Regions from separate parts of the Homo sapiens genome. Here all the other regions are linked to region 2. Evidence: promoter capture Hi-C in 16 types of primary human blood cells and fetal thymus (Javierre and others, 2016). All regions are on one chromosome and are shown on one strand. The core of a region is centred on a gene start or on the middle of the fragment in contact, and the rest is flanking DNA. Distances in the headings are between cores, read along the strand shown.

What was found. The method cuts DNA at HindIII sites, captures the fragments that hold promoters and counts their contacts. A CHiCAGO score of 5 or more calls a contact.
Region 1: a contact is called between a fragment that was not itself captured here and the fragment with the promoter of SARDH in region 2, in 1 of 17 cell types (fetal thymus). The highest score is 5.9, in fetal thymus.
Region 3: a fragment that was not itself captured here is called in contact with the fragment with the promoter of SARDH in region 2 in 1 of 17 cell types (fetal thymus); the score reaches 5.3 in fetal thymus.
Region 4: a contact is called between a fragment that was not itself captured here and the fragment with the promoter of SARDH in region 2, in 1 of 17 cell types (fetal thymus). The highest score is 5.1, in fetal thymus.
Region 5: the fragment with the promoter of ADAMTSL2 here is called in contact with the fragment with the promoter of SARDH in region 2 in 5 of 17 cell types (fetal thymus, activated CD4 T cells, megakaryocytes and 2 more); the score reaches 6.3 in fetal thymus.
Region 6: a fragment that was not itself captured here is called in contact with the fragment with the promoter of SARDH in region 2 in 2 of 17 cell types (non-activated CD4 T cells and naive CD4 T cells); the score reaches 7.2 in non-activated CD4 T cells.
Region 7: a fragment that was not itself captured here is called in contact with the fragment with the promoter of SARDH in region 2 in 6 of 17 cell types (naive CD8 T cells, total CD8 T cells, non-activated CD4 T cells and 3 more); the score reaches 8.2 in naive CD8 T cells.

What each region holds. Positions count from the first base shown.
Region 1 is chr9:133,509,956-133,513,091 of GRCh38, reverse strand. No RefSeq gene overlaps it. Among named protein-coding and RNA genes, the nearest start is that of MYMK, 13 kb to the left of the region's middle. RefSeq lists an enhancer at 1-454. The HindIII fragment of the contact is 8,560 bases long and covers 1-3,136 here.
Region 2 is chr9:133,736,857-133,740,093 of GRCh38, reverse strand. It overlaps SARDH (sarcosine dehydrogenase), which reads left to right and starts at 1,742. Exons shown (of 21, transcript NM_001134707.2): 1 at 1,742-1,840. The HindIII fragment of the contact is 9,698 bases long and covers 1-3,237 here.
Region 3 is chr9:133,491,707-133,494,886 of GRCh38, reverse strand. LOC102723855 (a long non-coding RNA gene) reads right to left here and starts at 3,176. Exons shown (of 3, transcript XR_428608.4): 1 at 1-3,176. The HindIII fragment of the contact is 3,026 bases long and covers 89-3,114 here.
Region 4 is chr9:133,556,863-133,560,176 of GRCh38, reverse strand. The region is part of intron 11 of ADAMTSL2 (ADAMTS like 2); the gene reads right to left. Among named protein-coding and RNA genes, the nearest start is that of ADAMTSL2, 24 kb to the right of the region's middle. RefSeq lists an enhancer at 2,831-3,314. The HindIII fragment of the contact is 402 bases long and covers 1,743-2,144 here.
Region 5 is chr9:133,533,136-133,536,669 of GRCh38, reverse strand. It overlaps ADAMTSL2 (ADAMTS like 2), which reads right to left and starts at 1,966. Exons shown (of 19, transcript NM_014694.4): 1 at 1,753-1,966; 2 at 1-107. RefSeq lists enhancers at 396-937, 1,478-2,019, 2,020-2,559, 2,560-3,101 and a silencer at 3,360-3,449. The HindIII fragment of the contact is 12,534 bases long and covers 1-3,534 here.
Region 6 is chr9:133,582,818-133,586,347 of GRCh38, reverse strand. The region is part of intron 1 of FAM163B (family with sequence similarity 163 member B); the gene reads left to right. Among named protein-coding and RNA genes, the nearest start is that of FAM163B, 25 kb to the left of the region's middle. The HindIII fragment of the contact is 195 bases long and covers 1,179-1,373 here.
Region 7 is chr9:133,606,301-133,609,562 of GRCh38, reverse strand. It overlaps FAM163B (family with sequence similarity 163 member B), which reads left to right and starts at 174. Exons shown (of 3, transcript NM_001080515.3): 1 at 174-486. The HindIII fragment of the contact is 240 bases long and covers 1,705-1,944 here.

The DNA.
Region 1 (3,136 bases), core at 490-2,989, 230 kb after region 2:
CTCTGACACCCTGGCCTGGTGGCCCCATCTGCTGCCCTCCCTGATGGCCTGGCATCCCCCAAGTCTCAGGGGCCCTGGCCTGCCCCTTCCTCACCTGGCGTCCCTCCTGGCCTTGAAGGGCAGGCATAGAGGACAGCCAAGCTCAGCCCTTTCCTGGCCCCGGAGTCTTTGAATGCAGAGCAGCCCAAGGCTGGCGCCCTCTCCCCAGCTCTCAGGGTATGAGCAAGCCAAGGCTCCAGCATCCAGGGCTCCAAGCCCATCCACCCAGCAGGGGAACTGGAACATGTCCTACGTGTCCCCATCATAGGGCTGAAGACACCCAACTTCTAAGCCCTGACCTGGGGTTGAGGGACAGGCATGGCACTGCCTCTGTACGCTTCCAGTCCACCTGAGGAGGTGCACACATGCCTGCACACACACCACACATACACACATGCACGTGCACACATGTACACACTCCATACACCACACACCACACATACACACATGTGCACACATGTACGCACTCCATACACCACACATACACGCATGTGCACACATGCACGCACTCCACACACCACACGTACACACATGTGCACACTGCATACACCACACACACTACACATACACGCAAGTGCACCCATGTATGCACTCCATACATACACACACCACACATGCACGTGCACACATGTACGCACTCCATACACCACACACACCTACACACACGTGCACACATGTACACACTGCATACACCACACACCACACATACACACATGTGCACACATGTATGCACTCCATACACCATAAACACACCACACATACATGCACGTGCACACATGTATACATTCCATACACCACACACACCACACATACGTACACATGCATGCACACACATACACACTCCATAAACCACACATACACACATGCACGTGCACACATATAAACACTCCATACACCACACATACACACATGCACGTGCACACATATACACACTCCATACACCACACATACATGCACATGCATGCATGTACACACTCCATACATCACATACACACACGTGCACATATATACACACTCCATACACCACACACCACACATACACACATGCACATGCACACACGTACACGCTCCATAGACCACACATACACATGTGCACACATATACACACTCCATACACCACACACACCACACACACGTGCACAAATGTACACACTCCATACACCACACATACACACACATATGTGCACACATATGCACACTCCATACACCACACACACACCACACATACACGTGCACACATGTACACATGCCATACACCACACATACACACGTGCACATATATACACACTCCATACACCACACATACACACACGCATGTGCACACACATACACCCTCCATAAACTACACATACACACCACACATACACACACGCACGTGCACACATGTACACACTTCATACACCACACACCCACACACGCTACATGCACTGTGAAAAGACGGGGTGTCCTTGAATCAGCGTCTTCCCCTCTGGCCCCGTGTGGAGACCACATAAGCCTCACACCAGGCTTTGTAGGGGACAGGCTCTGGGGACCCCGTAGCTGGAGAGCCCTGGACATCCCTGCAGAAGCAGGCACCTGCACGGTGGCCGCCCCACCTCCCTCCCCACCACAGCAAGCAGCCAGCACCCCCCTTTCCCGCTTCGCAGCAGCAGCACATGGAAAGTTGGAGGCGGCAGGCCACTCCGAGCAGGGCGGCGACGAGGGCCCTGCCAAGCGCGAAGGGCCACACTGGCAGGCTCCTCACTGCAGCGATTTACGAAGGCCGCCCAGAGCCTGGCCAAGTCTGTAAGTCACGGACAATTAGGAGGCGCGCTCCAGCCCTCAGTCCCTGCCCACCACTGCAGGATCCCGGGCTCCAGGCCCAGCCTCGACCCTCCCGACAGGGGCAGGCCCCTCCCCTTCACAGGCGACCCCTCGGGGGCCCCAGGACACAGTCCTGAGCCCACTTTGCCAATAAGGACTCCGAGGGCCAGGGACGTCAGACAGCTCGGGACAGTGGCTGCTGGGTGGGAGACGGTGCCAGGGTCTTGCCAGTCCCCCCAGCTGTGTCTCCCTCCCATGGCCTCAGGCACCACGGCCCACTTTGACATCTTGGGGGCTCTGACCAGGGAGCCAGGTAGGGAGCACCCGGGAGGGGCCACCCTGCTCCCTTGACACCCAGAATGGTCACCCCAACGCTGCAAGTTAACAAGAAAGAAACATTATGGCCTGCAGATGCAAACACCTCTGAATCCCTATGTCTGCCAGCCCCGAGGGCGTCGTGTCCCTGGAATCTGAGAAAGGGCCTCCAAGGCCGCCCCAGCCAGAACTCCCTCTCCCCAGCCCTGATCGGGAGACCTGGGGACTGTGAGTTCAGTTCTTGGAAAAGTAGTTCTAGATGTCACTAGGAGTCCCCAGCTAGCACTGGCCAAGAGGACTTGCTTTAGCAGTGGGGATGCTCTGGGCTGCCCAACACGCCTGGTGCCTGGGCATCTGCAACGTAGCTGGTACAACCCCAAACCTGGATCTTTAAATGTTATCCTCATTTTAAATAATTTAAGTTCGAATAGTCACATGGGTCCGGCCAGGTGCGGAGGTTCACGCCTGTAATCCAAGCACTTTGGGAGGCCGAGGTGCGCGGATCACGAGGTCAGGAGATCAAGACCATCCTGGCTAACACGGTGAAACCCCGTCTCTACTAAAAATACCAAAAAAAAAGTCACATGGGTGGCGTTGCCGATGAAATACAGGACGCCCAGTTGCGTTTCAATTTCAGATCTATAGCAGACGATCATGCAGCATAAGCGTGCCCCGGGAGCTATTGGAGAGACACTTGCGTGAGACACGCCTATACCAAAAAATGATTCATCGTGTATCTGAAATCGAGTTTATCCCAGAGTGTTCTGTTTGATCAGGCAGCCCTGTCCATGTGGCTGGTGGTTACTGCATAGGACGGTGCATCTGCTGGAAACAAAAGGGATGGGACAGCTCTGAGGACTCTTGGTGACTGAATGACCATGTGCTCCCACAGCTGGATCATTTCCCACTCTGGGGGGATGGGTGGGCACACACCCAGCAACAGCCTCCCCGAGCCTGGGAGCAGAAGCAGCCTGGGCCC
Region 2 (3,237 bases), core at 493-2,992:
TGCTAACAGGCCCTGCCGGATGAAAATCCTACGATACTAACAGACAGCTAACAGGCCGGGACCGGCCCCCAGCCACCACCCCTTGTCCAAAGTGCAGGTTCATTGTGCTGCCCTCTTGGCTTGTAACAGTTTTGCAACAGTTGCAACTTGTCTTTGAGTGCAGGGACAGGAGAAGTGTGGGCTACCCGGCCACTGCCCTGGAGCTGTGGTGACTGCTGCGTTTTTCTCCCATGCACTTGCACGTCCAGGACTCCTGGGAGAACTTGGGCCACACTCCTTCCTTGCCCTCTTGAGCTCATTCGTCACCCTGTTGGGTGAGCACAGCCCTAGCTCAGGCCACTGGGCAAGCCACACCATCCAAAGAGGAGGTCCTCTGCCCCAGGACCCCCACACCACCCCAGGTAAGCCTCAAACTGGCGGGGCCAGCTTTCCACTGGGCAGCCAGGGGCCTAAGCCAGTGGGCCCTTTGCCTTTGAGGCAGGGACTGAGAATGGTGTCAGCACGTGGTCAGGCCCAGAGCCCAGGCCCCCTCCTCTAAGAGGTCCTCCTGGATTCCCTGCTGGAAGGAAGCCAGCCTTGTGGTGTCGTGTCTCTCCCTGGATCTGTCTGCTTCGTGGACCCTGAGCCCCTCGAGGGCAGGGGCTGGGTCTTAGATGTCACTATAGGTTTCCCAGCAGTGCTTTGTACACATTGGGCATTCAGTAAATGTAGAGGATAGACAAGCTGGCAACAAGACAGTCGGACATCCTCGGTGTGAATAAGAACACAATGATTTGATTGGTATTAATTACAGCAGTTTACTATACGATCGCTTCCGGTATTGGCAGCTGGCATCATTACAATATTAACAGACTGCCATTGAAATGCCCCGTCTTTGATCCAGCGCGAGGAGGAGATGTGACTTTCCATCAGCACCTGTTCTGATTCTTTGGGCATCCAGAGGTGTATTCTTTCTGGGTTTCCTCCACACCCCTCCTCTGGGTGTCTACTTCTGTCTGGGAAGGGGTAACTTGCCCCAGCCCAGAGTCAGGCTGCAGCATCCGGTCTGCCTCCTCCACCAGCTTGCTGTGTGGCCCCCTCCCTGGGCACTGCTGTCCCCAACAGTCAATGGAGGCTGGAATCCCTGCCCTGGGGGCTACGTGCTGTGCAGTAGCCAGTGGCTTGGGGGCATCTCCCCAAACACCAGAGGGGTCTGGGAGCTCGGGAAAGCAGGACGCAGACAGACCAGGAGACCCTGTCCCTGGGAAGCTGACCCAGGCCTTCTCACTCGCCTCTGAAGGCAGTGAGCATCCTGTCCCTGGGGGTGAGCAAACTGGGGCATGTGCTGAGATGACCTCACCAAAGGAGCCTCCCTGCAGTGGACGGGCCCCTGGCCCAAGCTGCTGCTGACCCCACCTTTCCTGCCCACCCTGCCTGTGCATAGCTCCTTCTGGGCGCGGGGAGCTCGGGCGGCTCCAGCAGGCAGGTGGTGCCTGGGTCTACTGCAGCAACCCTGAGGCGCCTGTTTCAGAGACGAGGAAATGAGGGTTGGAGCGGAAGGGTGACTGCCAGGTCGCCTACGGGTAATGGGGCATGGGGTTCACAACCCTGCTCTGCCGCCCTCAGAGGGAGCTGCCCACAGGGCTGGCCTAGAAGCCCCAACTAAGCTGGCCTAGAAGCCGCAGTGGTGGGCGGTACGCTCCGCCCAGATCCTGGGCGGAGACATGGGGCTGGCAGCGAGGGTGGGGGGCGGGGGAGGCCTGGAGTTCCGGCCAGGCCACTGCTTGGGAAGCAAGAAGGTGAAGGCACCTCTGCTGGGCCAAGCACTCTTAGGGCCGAGGGGCACTGCAGCTGACAAGAGGTACTTGGAGGTACACCCCCAGGGAGGGACGAGGCTGGGGCCTCCCCTATGTGGGCGGGGCTGGGCCTGGTCAGATCTGGCTGGGATCTCCCTCTGCCTCTGGCTGCAGGGACCATCCAGCTGCATGAGCAGGACCAGGGTTCACCATATGGGCAGCTGCCTCCCCGCCCCCTGCCGCTCCTCCCCACAAGTCTGCCTACCCTCACCAGGCGAAGGTGCCAGGCGCTCTCCTCGCTTGACCCCCACCACCCCCTGAGCCTGGGAGGAGGAGGGCGTTCCTGGGTCCTCTGCTTTGCAGTGAGGTTAAGTTGTTGCTCGAGGCCCCAGTCCTGTGACAAAACCCCCACCCATCTGTCTGATCCCAAGCCCAGGGCTGTCCTCAGCCCTCACTCCTGGGAAGCTGACTCAGGTACGAGACAGAGTTGGAGGGGGCAAGAGAGTGGGTTAATGTGGAGGCAGCTGTTTCCAGGGAGGTGGCAGGCAGGAGGGGCTCTGGGCTGTCCCCGCTGGGGCCGCTGCCAGCCCCCAGTCTGACAGTCAGAAGAGCCCTGACTGACCAGGCAGGTGGTGAAGGGGCACGTGGCAGCCTCCGGCGCCAGCAGCTGTCGCTTTTTGGGCACAGTCGGAAGGAGGAGGGAGGCTTTTGCCCACAGCTGACCAGGTGTGCTGTGCCATGCGGCACCGTGGTGGGTGGTGGGTGGTGGGGTGGGGGTGTTCAGCCTTGGAGGGCCTTCCTCGGTGCCACTCAAGCTGGCTTTCCCCTGGTGGGGCACCACTTTTGGGGGCTCCTGGAAGACTGTGGACCTTCAAGGACTGAAGGTATGTACAGACACATGCAGGAGGCATGCCTCCTTGTCCGGGGCCACCTCTGCAGGCAGGAGCCAGGCGGGCTGACACACTGAGGGCTGAGAGGCTGAGGACAAGCTCCAACACCTCCTCACTCCCCTACGCCGCTGCAATCAGACTCCCTGCTCCCTCCCTTGGGATGGGGCACTGGGGCAGGAGATGGGGGGCAGCCCTGACCAGCCTGAGAGCTGGGATCCCCCTCACATCCCCCACTGTGCCTAGGACAGGGTTCTGGGCTTCGTCAGGGCTTGGGCAGTGCCCACAGTTCAGGTGGGACAGAGTGTGGCAGTGGGTCCTGAGTCCCCCTGGGATGGTCAGAAGAGGGGGCAGGAGAGAGTCCCTGGCACTGCCACATGGAGGCCCTATGACCCTGGTCACCTCAGGGAGCCTCTCCGTGTGTCAGACTCCCCCGCTGTGAAGTAGAGACATTATCATGTGTCTATAGGTGTTCAATGAGAGTGAACGAACGTGCATAGCTATGGTCCACTCTTGAAAAAGGATGCTGACTTTCTTAGATAATTATATCAGTCATTCATACTGACGTAGGTGGC
Region 3 (3,180 bases), core at 352-2,851, 250 kb after region 2:
AGCCTGGGGGACGCAGGGGAGGCCGGGGCTGGGTGGGTTCAAGGCCAGTTCGTGTCCCAGCCATGGGGGCGGGACACCCGGGCAAGCTTTCCAGCCCCCTCTCTATCAACTGAGCTGGCAGGCCTGTCCGTTTCAGGACAGCAGAGCCCTGTACCCATCCTCCATGCGCAAGAAGCAAACCCCACTCCTTATCTGCAGGAGGAGGCGGGCTTCTCTGTCGATATGGGCAAGCCCCTCAGGCAGACATTCCCATTCTTCCAATATAAGGCCTTCAAACATTTTAGGAGGCATGCAGGCACCCCATCTCCTCCTCCCCCTGAAATCCCAGATGTAATTACAATACGTGTGGCATCCCAGGGCGACAGGACCAGCTGGAAGCCGGACCCTAGCCATGTGAACACAGGTACACGAGACTCACAATGGGCACTCACACGCAGACACCCACACGGCCCCTGCAAGCGTCGCCCACACCCAGGCCAGCGCTGAGCCGTCCAGTCTGGGCTCTGCCTTGGCAGACACCAGGGCAGATGCACCTGCCGCCAACGGCCCCAACACCCACCCAGGGCCACCTCCCTCCCAAGTACCTGGGGCAGCCTCGCCCTGCATAACCCGATCCCCTGGCTGGCCCCACACATGTGTTTTTTCACTGAGCTCAGGCATCACCTCCTCCAGGAAGCAGCCTGTCCCCGCTCTCCCATGTCCCGGGTCCTGTGCCCCTCTGACCTGCCCCGGCTCTCCTGTGTCTGGGGGCCTGTGCCCCTCTGCCCTGCCCCGGCTCTCCTATGTCCCGAGTCCTGTGCCCCTCTGCCCTGCCCCGGCTCTCCTGTGTCCGGGGACCTGTGCCCCTCTGCCCTGACCTGGCTCTCCTGTGTCTTGGTGCCTGTGCCCCTCTGCCCTGCCCCAGCCTGCCGAGGGTGTGATGGTTTTCAGTGTGTCTCCCCTCTGGAACTGGTCAGCCCTCAAGGCAGGGCTGACCCCCATCCCAGTGCCTGGTATGAAGCTGGGCCTGAGCTTCCTCAAAAAGCGTCTGATGCACAAGCGAATGTGGTGACAATACCCACGAAGGGCCACCCTGAGCCTGTCAGATAGGAGGCGGCATTGCTTTGCTGAAGCGTGGGAATGCACGCAGGAGTGTGAGCACAGGCCCTGGCCCTGGACCGCCCCGTTCACCCAGGGCCCTGCTGGTCCTTCAGGCTCGAGAACACGATGTCCACAGGCTCCCAGGAACTGCAAGTGAGCAGAGTGGCCGAGAGCCGTGACCCCAGGACAGCAGCTGAGCAACAAGGGGGCCCCCAGCAGGCCAGGCAACCCAGGGCCCCAAGTGACATGTCCCCTCGCCCCAGGCACCCTTCACCCCAGCCATGGCCTGCATAGCAAGCCACTGCCATGCAGCCTGGGGAGCTCCAGGCTTAAGGTCCTGGCAGTGACTCTGGAATGGAAGTGCCAGGGCACAAACTCCAGGACCACCCCTTACCATGACCTGCAGGGCCGTGGGCAGGCAGGAAGCCCCCTCATGGCCAGGTTTCTTGAGGGCACCGTGGTTTCATGGCAGCATCTGCCTCCCAGGGCTGCTGCGGAGGGGAGAGGAAGGGACACAGAGTTCTGGAGAGGTGCTGCTTGCCAGTGGGGCCCCTGCAGATGGACAGAAGCCTGAGGGCGGCCCCCTCTGATTTCCAGCCTTCCCTCCAACCTTCTCCTGCATCCACCTGGCTGCCATTTGGGCAATTCCCAGGAGGATGAACAGAGTAGCCGAAGCCCGCAACACAGACATTTAACTTAGGAAAGATCTGATTGGTTCGGACACCCCTCGCCCCGGGCAGTGAGAAGAGGGCCTGGGCAGACCCTGCCTTGTTCCCCGTGGCCTCCCCAGCCCCCAGTCCCTGCCACCCCTGAGCCAGGGAAATCCTTCTGCGCTGGAAGTGCGGCAGCCCACAGAACAGAGTGCAGCCTGGGCATGCCCTCGGCCCTTTCCCTGAACCTGTTTCTTCTTCTGTAAAGTGGGAGAGAAGGACACGCACAGCTGGCAGAGGGCGCAGGGAGCATGACCACCAGCCGAGCACGCTGTGCGTGTGGGAAGCACCCAGTGGCAGCTACAAACAAACAGGCCCCGGCTCCCCTGTCCTCCTTCTTCTCGCCAGCAACCCCAGAGATCTATTCCGGGGACCCGGCCACAGCTGGGCTCCCGAGCCCCACATCCCCCAGCCCGAGGTGCCCTCAGGCCTTCCAGTGGAACATTTTTGACATAGTCTAAACCATCAGCAAAACAAGATGAAAATTCAGTAATTGCTTTTGGCAGGGAGTCCATGGGCCAGCACAGAGGCCAAAAATAACCCCGGGGAAGTTTCCTGGGCCACCTGCAGCCCTGGGGGCCCGTACTAGGCTCTGTCTGAACACAGGCCAGGACGGGTCTCGGCCTGGCCCTGCAAGCCAGCCTGGACAAAGCAGGGAGGCGGGCAGGGACTCGGGGGGCAGCGGGACAGAGTGAGGCTGTCACTTAGCACACTTCAGGCCAGGAAGTGCCCGGCCATCCGGAAAAATGTAATGTCATACTTTAGCAAGAAAAGCAGCTGTCATGCTACTTAGCAGCCCACAAATAGTTGGCTGAGTCCTAGAGCGGGTGTTGGCTGAGCCTGGGAGAGCAGAGATGCCAGGCTGGCAGGGCGGTGTGGGCCTCGTCCGGCCAGGTGGTATTCCCTCCCAGCCCCTCGCTCCCCCAGTCTCCCCCAGGCCTGGTCAGTCCCCAGCAGGCTGTGGGGGGCGCGAACCCCCTGAGGTTACAGCCCAAGGTCGCTGCACATCTGGCCACGGTAGGGGGACCTCGTCTGACCCCTCCCTTAATGCCTGCTGGGGAACCCCAGAGGGGACAGGAGCTCACTTCACCGGGTCAGAATCAGACCTCTCACCCACATCCCAGGCAGCCTAATCCTTTCCTCCAGGCCTCAGGGCCTCATCTGTAAACTGAGGCTGTCAAAGATGGTGGTCAAGGTACCAGAAGCCCATTAAGTAGCCAACCAGCCAGGCTCAGGGCTGACCCCCGCGCTCTCCTCTCCCCCATTTTACCGATGAGGAAATGAAGGCTCACGGAGGGAAGACCACACAGCGAGGATTGAAGCTTGGGTGGGACCCCAGGAGCAGAGCGGGCAAGGACGGCGGCTTCCCAAGGAGGGCTGATTGGCCTGC
Region 4 (3,314 bases), core at 694-3,193, 180 kb after region 2:
GGTCACAGGTCCTTCTTCAGGACCTTCAGTCACCTGGGGGTGGTCAGGCTTAGAGCATTATATTCAGAAAGGCTTTCAGATTGACTCCGTGATACAGACATGGGTTTGGATTGAATGGGGAGTTTACAATGTGTTAGGCAAGCGGGTGAGCATTGCTCTTCTGTTTTGCTTGGACTGGAATGGGAGGATCCCACAGCCAGGCAGTATTTGTGGGGATGAACGCTGCCTTGACCACACATCTGAGGCCCCAGGAATGATCTACCCACAGGAGCTTCAGCAGTGAGTTCACTGGTGTGGCTCCCTAAACTCAGGGAGGGAGAAGAGGAGTGAAGGGAGAAGGCATGGGGACCAAGGCCCAGGAAGGGCTGCGGGCTGGGGGCTGGTCCCACTGTTTCTTCAAAGCCTCCTTCACCTGGGAGCTTCAAGCCAGGAGAGTCTGTCCCATCCTGGGGCTCAAGGGGAAGGGAAGAGTGCCTTCTCCTCCCTCTTTCAGAACTTAGAGGAAGCTTTAAAAATGGGGGTGGGGGCCAGGCGCAGTGACTCTTGCCTGTAATCCCAGCACTTTGGGAGGCCGAGGCGGGTGGATCACGAGGTCAGGAGATCGAGACCATCCTGGCTGACATGGTGAAACCCCGTCTCTACTAAAAATACAAAAAAAAAAAAAAATTCACCGGGTGTGGTGGCGGGCGCCTGTAGTCCCAGCTACTCAGGAGGCTGAGGCAAGAGAATGGCATGAACCTGGGAGGCAGAGCTTGCAGTGAGCCGAGATCACACCACTGCACTCCTGAGCAACAGAGTGACTCCGTCTCAAAAAAAAAAAAAAAATGGGGGTGGGTGGGGGGTTTCCCAAGACCCTGTCATCTCAGAACAAAAGTTCCCTGGAAACCTGGAAAACTGCCCCAATGGGGGCCACTCAGAGCACCCAGATCAGGATAAGTAAGTCCTTTCAGGGAACGGAGAACCCGGAAGACCAGTCCTTAATGTTCGATTCAGAAAACACTAAACTGTGCTGACCAGTTCCCCACCTACTTTCAACAGCTTTAAATTCTCCCCAAGAACAAAAAGAGATGAAAAGATCCAACCCATGCCCCTCCACCCCACCCATGGAGACGCTCCGCCATCTTTATCTAATTACATGCTCTGAGCCAGCAGGCAGCATGACTCATGCCTGACTCAAGAGAGAGCGGGCCCGGTTCAAAATAACCCTTTGGATTTTAAGCACCAAAGGTATTTCTGGAGGGGCTGCCCACACACTCTTCGCAGCAGCACGTGTGGGGCATAGCAGATGCAACTCTTGAACATAACCCTGCATATATTTGCACAACAATGCAACGCCTAGCAGGTTCCGTTCTTGGAAGTAGCACAGGGAAGCGGAACACCAAGGAAATCGCTGAAGCACCAAACCGTCGCTCTCCTCCATCTGGAAGGAAGTCACTGCCCCTCTCAGCTGTGAAAGTCAGAGCTGCTAGACTGGGGCTGGTGACGGCTGTGGAGTCACCACCAGACCACCTGTCACTCCTCAGGGTCCTTCGCCCAGATGCCCGGCCAGACACAGGCTCACGGGCTCCCCAGGCAGGAGAAGCTCTGAAGCCACCGTGTTTGTTTATAAACAAGCCAGAAAGTGCTCTGTTCTTCTCTCCCCCCAAGGCTGCGGAGAGGGACTCCGCGTCTCTGTGTCTCAGAAGCTTGTTCCCAAAGTCGGAGTCTGGTGACAGGGGCCCCTCCCTTGATTGTTTGAAGCTTTTCTGGAAAGATGAAAATAGCCTTTCCTTTCTGGGCTGCCCCTTTGATTTTGCCTTCTCTGAGCAGACACGACTTCCTGTGTTTGGACAACTCGGCCGAGACGTGGCTATTTTGGCCTGGTGGTTTCCCCCGCCGCCTCCCTCTGCCCTTTATCTCTCCACACCATCTTTGGTCCCTGTGCGGCAGCATCCTTTGATGGCAGGCCGGCCGGGGGAGCAGCGGCATCTCAGCAGTCAGGGCCTTTCTGAGTGCTGACAGCCTAGTTGATCGACCCTTGAGGCCCCTGACAGGCCCTGGAAATTCAATATATCCTGGGGCGGGGGGCTAAGAGGGGAGGGTAAGAGTCAACCAAGATGGGGCAGGAGAGACTCTTTACAAAGCGGCTTGAGGATCCGTAAGCTTGTGCCATGACCCTGGCCTAAGGATCACTGAATATTTGACCTGGTGGGCCCAAAGGGCAGCCCCTGACAAGCCCCCCAGTGAGAGATGGGGAAACTGAGGCCCAGAGGAAGACAGAGATGCTCAACTCACACAGTGTCCATGCCTTAAGCCAAATTCCACAGCGAGGCCTCGGTGCCACTCTGATAAACCTATTCTATTTGGAGGGCCGTGACTGCCGGAGAGCTGGCCTCCCTGACCCAGGCAGTGGGTCCTGAAAGGCACCCCCCACTGCTGCCACTTGGAGGCTCAGTTTTCTACTAATAGCTTCTACTTACTGGAGGCCTTACCGTGGGCCTCACACACGGAATACCAGGGAATGCCCCGGACTGCCCTGGGAGGTGAAGAGGGCCCACGCTGAAGACACAGACAGACTGGCAGCCTTGAGTAGTGCCGTTCCCACAGGCAGGCACTGTCTGGGTCCGTCCCTCCTGCCCTTTACCCAGGACCCCCTCTCAGACTCAGACACTATACCCAAAGCAAGGCCCGGCCCTCCCCGCCCGAGTCCTGAGAACCAGCCACAGGCCCCACCTACCCAAGGCTTTGAGCATGCCAAGGTAAAGGGTGAGCAGACAGCCCTGTGCCACCCCTGTGGGAAGAGGGGCAGCCAGAGGAGGCTCCGAGGCCCCACTCTGTCCACATCTGCAAAGTAGGATTCCGCCCAGAGCCTGCCAGAAGTGCTCAGGACATCCTCCCTGCACCCCGCAGCCCCAGGCACCTCGGTGGCCTCAGAAAACAGTTTGAGAAAAGCGGCAGGCATCCCCTGGGGCTCCTGGCTCACCAGGGAGGTTGGCTTTGTTGCTCTGGTCCCAGGGCTGGATGGGTGGGAGGGTGGCCCCAAACCACATCACCTCGAGAGTGAACCCTGAATCTCCCATCAAATTCAGTCCCTGAGCCCCAAGGAAGACCCACTCAGCACTCCCAGCCCAGGCCGGGTTCAGTTCATGCTTGCGTCTAAAGTCAAAGGGCTTGGGTTGGACCTCAGAAAACAAAACCAAACACCAGTGAGCCCGTGCCTGCCTCCAACCCCCACTCACTGCCTGTTTAAAGTAGCCCCCAGGCACATGTGAGTTGCTGGGAGAAACTGTGGGGACCTGCAAGGGTGGCCACCCTCTATCTGGGGGCAGGCGGGG
Region 5 (3,534 bases), core at 717-3,216, 200 kb after region 2:
CTCTTCCAGATGACCAGGGTACGCTTTGGGAAGAGCCCTCGGGGCCCAGCCAGTGCCCAGGCCTCAAGGTTATCTGGGACTAGTTGGTCGTGGTTGTCTGGCAGACCCTGTTGGGAAGGATGAACCCCCCGCCTCAGTCTAGGCTTAGCAAGAAGGAGCTTGGTGAATGATTAGTAATGCCTGCTTCAGGCAAGACACCCAGCGGCGGTGTGCGTGCTAAGCCTGTGCCACCCTTGATCCAAGGGCATGCAGGGAAGCATGCCATGCTTTGCCTCCAAGTCCTCAAGCCCCCTAGAGAAGGGCTGTGGAGACAGCCAGCCTCGGCTGAGGGGGCTGGGGACCCAGGCGGGGGGAAAGGCTCTGGTTCGAAGGGATGGGCCTGGGCTCAGTCCAGCGCCTTGGCAGGAGCACCTTGGGATTTTAACTGGCTCAGCTCTTGCTGGCCTCGCAGGAGAATGGCCTCTGCCACTGGCTGCTAGGGTCAGTGCATGGGGATGGGCTTGGCCAGGTCCCGGGGGAATGTGCAGCCTCGCCCTAGACCAGCAGCTCCACAGTCAGCATCCAGCAACAGCCGGCACTCAGGTGAGGCAGAACCCAGGTACCTATGCCGCCTCCCGATCCCCGGAGAGAAGATGGAATTGGGGGAGGGGCAGGGCAGGAGGAGGTGCAGTTTGTGCCAGCATGTCAGCAGTCCAGGGCCACAAGGCTGACTTCCTCCCAACAGCCAGCACCCTTGGCTCAAAACACCTGCCAGGGGTCAAAGCAAGCCCATTGGAAGGGACTGTCCAGCCTCCAGGCCCTCAGCTCTCCCCACCCCCTCCTCAGCGTCGACCCTGCCCTGTGGAAGGGAAGACCAGAGATCCACCATGACCTCTGTCCAGGCCTTGCTCAGGTGCTGAGGGTCACTTGCCAGCGAGTTAGAGAAGGGATTTCAGAAACCACGCAGCCTGCACTCATAACCTGGAGCCCAGAGAGGGGAGCCAACCTGCTCAAAGCCACACAGCAAGGTAGCACACTAGCAAACTCAGGGACTCGACCCCCACGCCTGGCCAATTCCAGGGGAAGAAGGCATGGAGGTCACCCCTCACCCCTGCCAGGCCAGAGGCCAACTCGGGCTCTGCCCCTCCCTCCTCAGCAGCCTCCATCCAACTTGAAGAGTTTCCTTGCAGGCCCGGCACCTGCAGATTTTCAGGGGCCACTCCAAGGACACCACTGCAGCCCGGACGACGCAGCAGTGCACCCTGGAGTGGGGAGCCTGAGTCTGACCTCCCCTGCCCCCGCCGCCTGCCCCCCACCTCCCTCCCCTGCAGACCTCCATCTGCACTCTCAGCCTCACACCCACAGGAGCCCCCTCCACTGTGCCATTGGCTAACGGGTGCCCCAGCCTCTGCCTGCCGGCTGAAGACAGGTGCCAGCCGGCCTCACACTTGCTTTTTTCATTAAGGCTTCCAGACACCACTGGCTTCTGGCCAGGCCTCGCTCACGGGGATCCATCCCTCCCTGGGGTCCAAAAGCAGCGGCTGGCGGCAGCAGAGAGGTCTGCCGTGCACACAGAGCTCCGGGCGCACAAGGCTAGGTGCTGGGAGGCCACCCTGCCCCGTGCTCTGCGGCCCGACCCCTCCCCACAAGCCTCCCCACGTTATGTAACGGCTCCAGAGGGCGCGGGGTGCTCCTACCCCCAGCCCCACTCTGAGCAGTGGGCTGGCCTGGTGGACGCTGCAACGTGAGGGGGACGGGGACGAGGTGGCCTACCTGGCTTCGGGTCAGCAGGTTGTCCTCCCAGAGAAAGGGGCGAGCGCTGCGGAGGGCAGACGGCGCCAGGTGCGCTGTGCGTGCGGGGGCGGCGTGAGTGCAGAGGCTGCGGCCCGGCCTCCCTCTCCCCTTCCCCTCCTCCCCCGCGCCGCCTCCCTCTCCCACTTCAAAGAGCATCCAAGAGAGGGGGTTCCCGGGAGGGGCGCAGCCCAGTGGCGGCTCTGCGCCGGCGGCCGCCTTTATAGCTGTCAGGCAGACGGGGAGGAACACTCACACTTCCCACCAGGCCGCTCCCCCGCCCGCGCCGGCCGGCCTGGCGCACACTTTAACCCGCTCTGCGCCTCTGGAGCCCGGCCAGGCCGGCCCAGCTGCCTGTTGGCTGCTGCCGGCGGCGGCGGCCCAGGAGCGGCGAGCAGGGAGGCCTTCTTCCCGGGTCCAGAACTGGGGGCCACATGTCGGGTGTCCAGACGGAGCAGCCGCTGGCCTGAGGTTACCGGGGAGGCTGGCGGTGGCAAAGCCCCAGCCCCGCCTGTCCGGCTTCTGCCTCCAGAGCGGGCCCTGTCCCTGGGGCTCCTGAGAATGGGGTCTGGGATGTATGAGGTGTCCCGTCTGATGGCTCCGTTGTACGGAGGGAAAGGCTGAACTTCCGGGACGACCGTGCCCCAGGTCACGAGCCTCAGAAAGCTCCCGAGATGCAGGGGCCTAAGCAGGTGGAGGGACGCAGGGAGACCCAGCGAGAATGAACCAAGGGCTCCAGGGAGGAGACAGATGTGCCCGTGGCCTGCTGACCAGATGGCTAGAGCAGCCAGGGCCAGGGCAGAGAGGCTCAGGGATTCTGCAGATGTCCAGCACCAACTTGGCAGCCCCTGGCAGGCCAGGCCTGGAGCTCAAGCCTCTGTTCCTGCTGAGTCAGGGCACAGAGGGGAGCGAGAGTGGGTGGAGCAGCAGAGCCCCCCTGGGAAACTCCCGGCGGGCCCCAGACTTTGTGAGGCTTTCCTAAAGCAAGGCTGGGCACCTAGCCTCTGCACACCAGCTTCCCCAGAGCCCATCCTCGGCAAACAGAGGCACCTCCAAAAAGGGGAGGAGGAGGAAGCTGGGGCACCATTCCATCAGGTCATCTGTGTCTTTTCATCCATGCCCCTGCCTCCATGCAGCAGATGTCCTGGGCCCACAGCAGTGCCGGGAAGACACTTCTCCTTCCCTCTGTCCTCCCTGCTGGAAGAAACTTGTGAGTTCCTTCAGCTGCCTTCATGAGAAAGTTCTGCCCTGTGTCTGACCACCCACCAGAAAGGCTGGGAAGGAAAGCCACCAGTAATAGTAGTGAAAGCGATAATACCGTCTGCCCTCTGTCCAGCTTGTCCTACGGGCCCAGAGCTGTGAGGCCAGATCCACCTTTATGATCTGCATTTCACAGGTGGAAGAACTGAGGTTCGGGGACCAAGTCACCTCTCCAGTAGGCAAGGCTGGGATGCCAGCGCTCCTGAGTGTCGGGTTCTCTCCTCTGCCGGGTTGTTTAAGTTTCTCTCCCCGGGACCCTCGGGCAGGCAAGTCTTATTCATCTCATTCTCCTGCTGGGGCAACTGGGATGCAAGGTGGCTGCTCCTAGTCACAGGGCCACCTGCGGTGTGGAACCAGGACTAACCCTAACCCTAACCCAGGCCCACACTGCCCCCTGGGGTCGCTGTGCTGAATCACAGACATGGTGGCACCTGTCACCCAGCACACACACACACACACACACACACACACACACAGGCACACACACACCCAGTCCCTCTCACA
Region 6 (3,530 bases), core at 27-2,526, 150 kb after region 2:
TCCTAGACAGACCGCAAGCCCCTCAGAACCCGTGGTGGGCAGGGGCCTGATTCACTGCCCCCTCTTCCCCCCGCAGCTGAGCTGGGGATAGAGCTGGGAAGGCAGACATTCCAGGTGCTGTTGGGAACTGCCCTCCAGGCCCCGCAGACTCCCTTCTGCCAGCCCACCCCCAGCCGGGCTCTGGATAACATCTCGGAGACCAACCGCGGCAGCACAGGGCAGCCGAGCACTTCCTCGTCTGTTTATTACTGAACGCAGGCATCTGGGAGCCCGCGGAGCATGAAATTAGGAACAAATGTGCAGGAGGTCTAGACAGGAACTCTGCGGGCTGCTCTCCTCCGATCGAGGACGCCGGGGCCCTTGGGCTTCCAGGTAATGGGAGCGCCTTTGTAACCAGACAGATGTGTTTGTGGAGAAAAGGCGCTCTGAGTCTCCATAAGCCCTCGACGAGACGCCGGCATGGGGAGGAGTCTGACCGTGAGGCAACAAGCCTGGGTTCCAGGTCCAGCTCTGCCCTGGGCCCCCAGGGTTGGCCCTCTCTGCCCTGGCCTTGGTTTCCCCATCTGGAAGTGGAGGGCGCCCGCCTCACCTGGTTAGAGGGGCCGCTTGTGAAGCCATCAGATTGCAGGGCCCGTGCAGCTGCACTGCCGTCGGGACGTCTGTGTGTTTACCAGGCTCCCCGTCCTGGGGCCCGGTTGGTTTGGAAGGCGCGGGGCTGGATGAGCCAGAGGGCACGGCCAGTGCCGAGGATGTAGGCCTTGGCTTCTCCCTGGCTCCTACCACGAGCGCTGGGCATCTCAGGTGAACGAGGCAGACAGAAGCCTTCATTAAGCGTCGCCTGGGCCCTGTACCATGCAAGGCAGTGGCGGGGGCTGGGGCTGGGGCACAAAATAAATAAGCTCTGGAGGGGTCCGTTCCCGTGGGCTTTACGGCAAGTGAGGGGGATGTGGCAAGAGGGACAGAAAACTAGCAGAGTCTGAAATTCAGCACGGGACGTGTGGCCCAGATGGTGGTTAGCAGGGGGTCTCCTGCCAGGGAAAGGTGGGTGTGGGGAGGGGGCTCCCGGGGGAGGCAGGTGGAGGCCCGTGTCTGGCTCTGCTGCCAGGTGTTTCCTGCCCCACCCCCAGCTCCACGCCATTCATTCCTCGGTGCCGGTGCCGCAGGAGACAACTGAAGCTTGTAAACGCAGCTGGCTCTCCCTGCCGGCTACAGAGACGAGATGGGGCCCTCAGAAGGGGACTGTTGCCCGCCCAGGCCCCCTTGCCACAGACTCTGTGGACTGGGGTGGGGGACGCACAGGGGAGCCCCATCTCACAACCTGTCCCTGTAAAAACCCGGGGTGGGAACAGGGAAGCAAAGCCATTTATAAAGCTTTAAAACCATTTATGGTCCCAGGGGGCAGATAAACAATTCAGCGCTATTCTCGCCAAATTGCCTTGGCTGGCAGTGCGGAGGCTTCAGGGAGCTGGAAGAGGGGTGGGGCTCGAGTCACAAGCAGGCGGCAGAGTAGCCTCTGCCAGGCTGTTGCTGGGCCTGACCCGCATGGCTCTGCCTCCGAGGCTTGGCCTGTGCTGTTCCCAGCACCAACAGGCCCTCTCCTTCTTCTCCCAGCCCATCCTTCACAGCCCGGCTCAGAAGCTTCCTCCTCCAGGAAGTTTCCCTCGGTTCCTCCCCCATCCGTTACCACCCTGAGCAGCCAAGTCCTCCCCTGTTCTCTCAGGCACTCAGCTTTCTCAGAGCACAAGTATCCTTGGGAGCCAAAGTGTCTGTAGCCCTTCCCGTTCTCTGCCTACCCTTGGAGGGTGTCATCTGGCTTTTTCGCCTTATCACTTGATGTTTGTTTACATTTTCATAATCCTGACTTTGTTGGGTGTCTAAATCATCTGGATTCCTGGCAGGACCAATTAAAAATCCAAGTCCCCCAGAGTTGGGAGGAATCAGCGTCTAAACCCTGCCACACCCATTGTACAGATAAGAAAACTGAACCCAGGGAGAGGCCTCTGACCCAAGGTCACCCGCAAGAGTAGAGCAGGACAGAGGCCCCGCAGACTCGTATCACCTGGGCCACAGCTGAGTAGAGTCCTGGGGTCCCCAGGGAGGAGGCTGAAGGTAAGCACTCAGGGAGGGCAGCAGGTGGTCCATATTCTTCCCCCATTAAATGAAGGGGTGGGACCTGGTCCCTCTCAGCTCTGGCGTTTGAAGTTTTGAAGTTCTGTGGTGTGTATTAAAGTTCAGGAAGGCTTCCTGGGAGAGGAGGGCACGTGCTGGGCTTTGATGGCGTGGTAGGTCCGGGGGGGGGATGGGCATCCCAGAGGGTGGGGCACAGCTAGAGCAGAGGGGAGGCAGGAGGGTGGAGGCCCAGGGAGGCCGTGTTTTTGGGAGCTGCTCGGAGTGAACTGTGGTCTGATGTCAGGCTGGGCGCTGGTGGAGCTGCCAGCGGAGTGTGTGTCTGTCGGCCATGCCTGGCCCTGGGACCTGGCGCCGTCTCGGGCGTTGCTGCTCCTCGGCAGGCGTGTATCTGCAGAGCGAGGCTGAGAGGCTCCAGCTGGACCAGCCTGGGTGTTGGAGGGTGGCTGCTGACAGCCCTGGGCACCTGGCCTGAGCCGGCACCCTTCCCGTCACGCCGCCAGGCTGCTCTCCGCTGGAGGAGACCTGGGCCCAGAGGAGCTGCAGCCAGGCGGAGCCAGGGACCGGCTGCATCTCAGACCTGAGAGAGAGCTTTGCGGCGAGCGGGGCCAGCTCCCTCAGGGACCCGATGAAGGACTCAGACCCAGGGAGGGACACGGTCCTAACATCAGCACAGCACTGAGCATGGTGCAGCTGCTGTCCCACAGAACCCCTGGGGTTCTCCCATTTTATAGAGGAGGGAACTGAGGCAGAGGAATGGAGGCACTGAAGGCCCATTCTTGCAGCTAACCAGAGGCAAAGCCAGGCTGGCACTTGGGGGTTTAGCCTGGGTGTCCTGTATGGCTCCCCAGTACCTGTCCCTGAGGGAGCACCTCAGCCCAGCCATGGCCACCTACAGTCTCCATCCTCCCTGCAGTCTCAGCCTGACAGCAGTGGGAGCCCCTCCACCCAGGCCCATGCTTCCCTATGGGAAAGCAGTGGCCCCCATTGCTATCAGTAAGCCCTAGCAGTGGGCCCTCAGCCATGGCCCGTAGTGGAGGGTGGTGCTGAATTTTAATCCCTGCATGACCACAGACAACACTCGGGCACGAGCCTCCACCTCCCTCAACCCCTCCCAAGCTGTGTGAGTGCCCTCATTGATGAAGTGGGGCCATAATTACCTGGGTGCAAATAGCAAAAATGCCCTCCAGGTGACATACACACAGTAGGTGACATACACACAGCAGGAGTCACTCTGCAGGTGTCGGGGAGGGATCGGCACCTGAGTCAGGACCACAACAGCAATCTCTCCGGCAGCTGTGGCCTTCCTCGCTCCCTCCGGGGACCAGCGCCTTCTGACTCTCCAACATGTGGCTGAAAACCCCACCCGTGGCTACAGCCTGGCCACAGCCTGAGCACTCATG
Region 7 (3,262 bases), core at 575-3,074, 130 kb after region 2:
CCAGGGTGGGGGCACCCCCAGGCCTCCAGGAGGTCGCGCGTCCCGGGCGAGAGCGGACGAGCCGTCAGCACCAGGGACAGCTCCCCAGGCCGCTCCCGGCATCCCCCGACGACTGCGCGCGCGGGCCGGTGACGCGCGCTCCCCGCCAGGCTCGGGCGCGCGCCCTCCCCGCCAGCGCGCGCCCTGCGCTCGGGACCAGGCTGGAGCCGCGCGTGCAGCTCGCAGGGAGCCAGCCGGGGCGTCCGGAGTCGCGGCCGCAGCGCGGAGCTGGCAGGGGTGCCCGCCTGGGCACGCAGTCGCCTCCCCGGGGGCCTCCCGGGCTTCTCAGCGCCCGCCTCGCCCGCCCAGCCACACCAGGCGCCACCGCCGTGGCCTGGGCATGAGCGGCCGCCGCTAGCTGCGCCCTGCCCGGGTCGGACGCCCGCCCGCCCCGTCACGTGCGCCCAAGTCCTCGCGGCCGGGGCAGCGCGGTTCCCATGCTTCAAGGTAAGGGCCGAGCGGGCCGCGGGTCACGGGGTGTGGGGCAGAAGACGCAGGCTGGAAAGCTCCAGCTAGGTGCCCACTCGTCCAGAGTGCCCACTGCAGCCTGCCCCGGCTGCCTCGCACCAGGTCCCCTGACCCAGCTGGCGTCACCCATCCCCTGGCTTCCACCCTCAAAGCGCATCCCCGAGGAGGAGACTGAGACCCAGGTGGGCACGAGGGCCTAAGGGAGAGGTGGGGGACCCACTTTAGGAAGGGGGGCTTCATTTCCCTCGGAACAGTGGCCTGGGGGCAGGGGGCAGTGGGGAGGGAAAGTTTCCCAGAAGAGCCCTCTGGAAACCTGGCCGCCTTCTCTCCCTGCCAGGAGCTAAGACTTTTTCATTTGCTGAGCTTTGCCTTCTTCCAGAGTCGGTGCTGCATTTTCATCCCATCCCATTCACCCAACACCCACGAGAAAGGGGCATTGGCCCCATTTCACAGATGCAGAAACTGAGTCTCCGAGAGGTTTGGTCTCTTGCCCACGATCACAGAGTGGGGAAGTGGTGGAGATGGCCTCAAACACGCCGGCCTCTGTCACCACCACCTCACACCTTTGTCTGTTAGGAATCTCTGCTTCATTGACAGGTGGGGGGTTGCCTAACTGACACTAGGTTTCCTCAGCCAGAAAAGAAAAGACTCTACACACCAAAAACCCAAGAGATATTCAACATGGGTCCTCAGGGCTCCACTGTCTCACCCCACTCGTGTCCTGTCCTCCCGCAGCCACGGACTGCCTGGGCACAAGTGGTCCTGCCAGTGTGTGTCCCGTAGCAACCCCGATGGCTCTGAGACAAGAAACTCAAGGGTCAAGTTCATGGAACCTTCTGCAGGGTAAGGGGAGTATCCTTGAGGCCTGAGCCCCAGCATTCGTCCTAGCACCTTCCCCAGTAAGCAGGAGCTCAGGAGAGCCAGCGGGCCACCCTGCCAGCCTTCTCCCTTGCATTTCCCTCAGCCCCTGCCAACTCACGCTCTTCAGGGCTTCTGGGGAGAGCAGTAATTACCAACCCCCAAAAAGTTCAGGGTTGCTGGGAAAGCACCTTTGCCCATCTTCCCACCTTCTCCCTCTTATAGAATTGAGAGTGAAGTGGAGGTGACCAGGGCTCTACCCACCTGAGCAGGTGAGAACCAGCACTTCCTGGGCTGGGCAAGGGCTGGTTTTAACTCTTGGTGCACTGACTGCAAGCTTCCTAAACAGCTTAGGTGCTGGCAGCTTGTGAAAAAATCTCACCCTAAGGCTCGGGGGCCCAGGAAATGTGGGGTTTTGTTCATTCGGTCTTGCACTTGCTGGCAGTTTGTTGAGCATCTGCACGATGCTATGAAAAGACCCACAGGGCAGTCTTTGTATCCTGGATCCAGCTGGGTTTTGGTTTCCCTATCAGCTGAGTTTCCAATGGGGCCGGCTTGTCTAGACTCAGCCGGAAAGCTTGGAAATGGCTCCCGAAGGATCTGGGGGTCTGGGAAGGATGCACAGGCTCTCCCAGCCTCAGTGCCCCACTTGCATGGGGAGGGAGTGGGAGCTCCAGGGTGCATTGCTGGACTCTCAGGACGTGCTGACACCACTCAGAATCCTGGCACACAGAGGTGTTGCAGCTTCTCCACCCTCGCCTCTCCAGCAGGTAGGGCAAGGAGCCCCACAGAGCTCCTCCTACCCTTGAGGCTGGAGTCCCCAACACACGTCTGTCATGCCAGTACCATCAGCAAACATGAGCAAGGGCACCTGGGGAAAGGTGGGCACAGATGGAGAAGTCGGGACTCGAGTTCTGTCCACCTTTTTGGGTGACCTTGGGCAAGTCACTTTCCTCTCTAGACCTCAGTCTCCCATGTACAAAATTGTGGGGTGGATCATTTCATGTCCCCCCTCTGAGCCATTACAGCTCTGTTCATCTAAGCCCCGGATGGAGTAGGAAAGCTGGGAGGAGTGCAGTTCCTCCCTTTTTGCCATGGTATTGAGGGAGTGCAGAGCAGTTTTGAAATCTTCGGACTGACCTGAGTCCAAGCCCCCAGTCCGTGCCAACCCTACTCCCTACTCACATGATCACCCCCGTTTTGTATATTTAGGGGCTGGCTCTATATTCCTGACTTTTCTGGTGCTGGTTCTGGGTGAGGCTTCACAGCATGGAGACCCACTCCTGCAGTGAGACCTCTGGCTCCTGCCACGTGGGCCTGCCTCTGCAGCCTCATGGCAGCGGGCTCCAGCGAGGAATAATTACAGCACTCGGGAGGGGAGAGATGTATTACATCTCAGTCAATTACCTCTGACTCTAAACTCTCGGGGCAGGAGGGGAGGCAGAGCAGCAGCCGAGCCCTTGTTCTGTCCTCCACTCCGCTCCTGGCCCTACCGCCACTTCCCTCTTCAGAGTAGCAAGTCCTGATCTGTGTGTTGGTAAAATGGCAATTTGTGTGGCAGAGAGAGTGGTTTCCAGGCCAGACCACGGGTGCATCATTCCGCATCCCCATCTGCAAAAATGAGGGTGCTCCTGCCTTCCCTGCTGGCACATGGGACACCGGGGCAACCGTGAGCCTGGCCAAAAGGCTTTTGGATGCCAAGAGCATGTGGTCCTGGGGACCACCCTACAGAGGCCAGGGTGGGGCTGGGGGGCTTCTCTGCCAGCTGCTGCCACACTTGGCACTGGTACTTCTTGCAGTGTCTCAGTCTTTCTGGATCTGCTCCAGAGGGGATTTGATGAGTTCCGAGGCCTCAGTGTTTGCCAGCTCCCTCCCTCCGTTGCTGAATCCTCCCGCA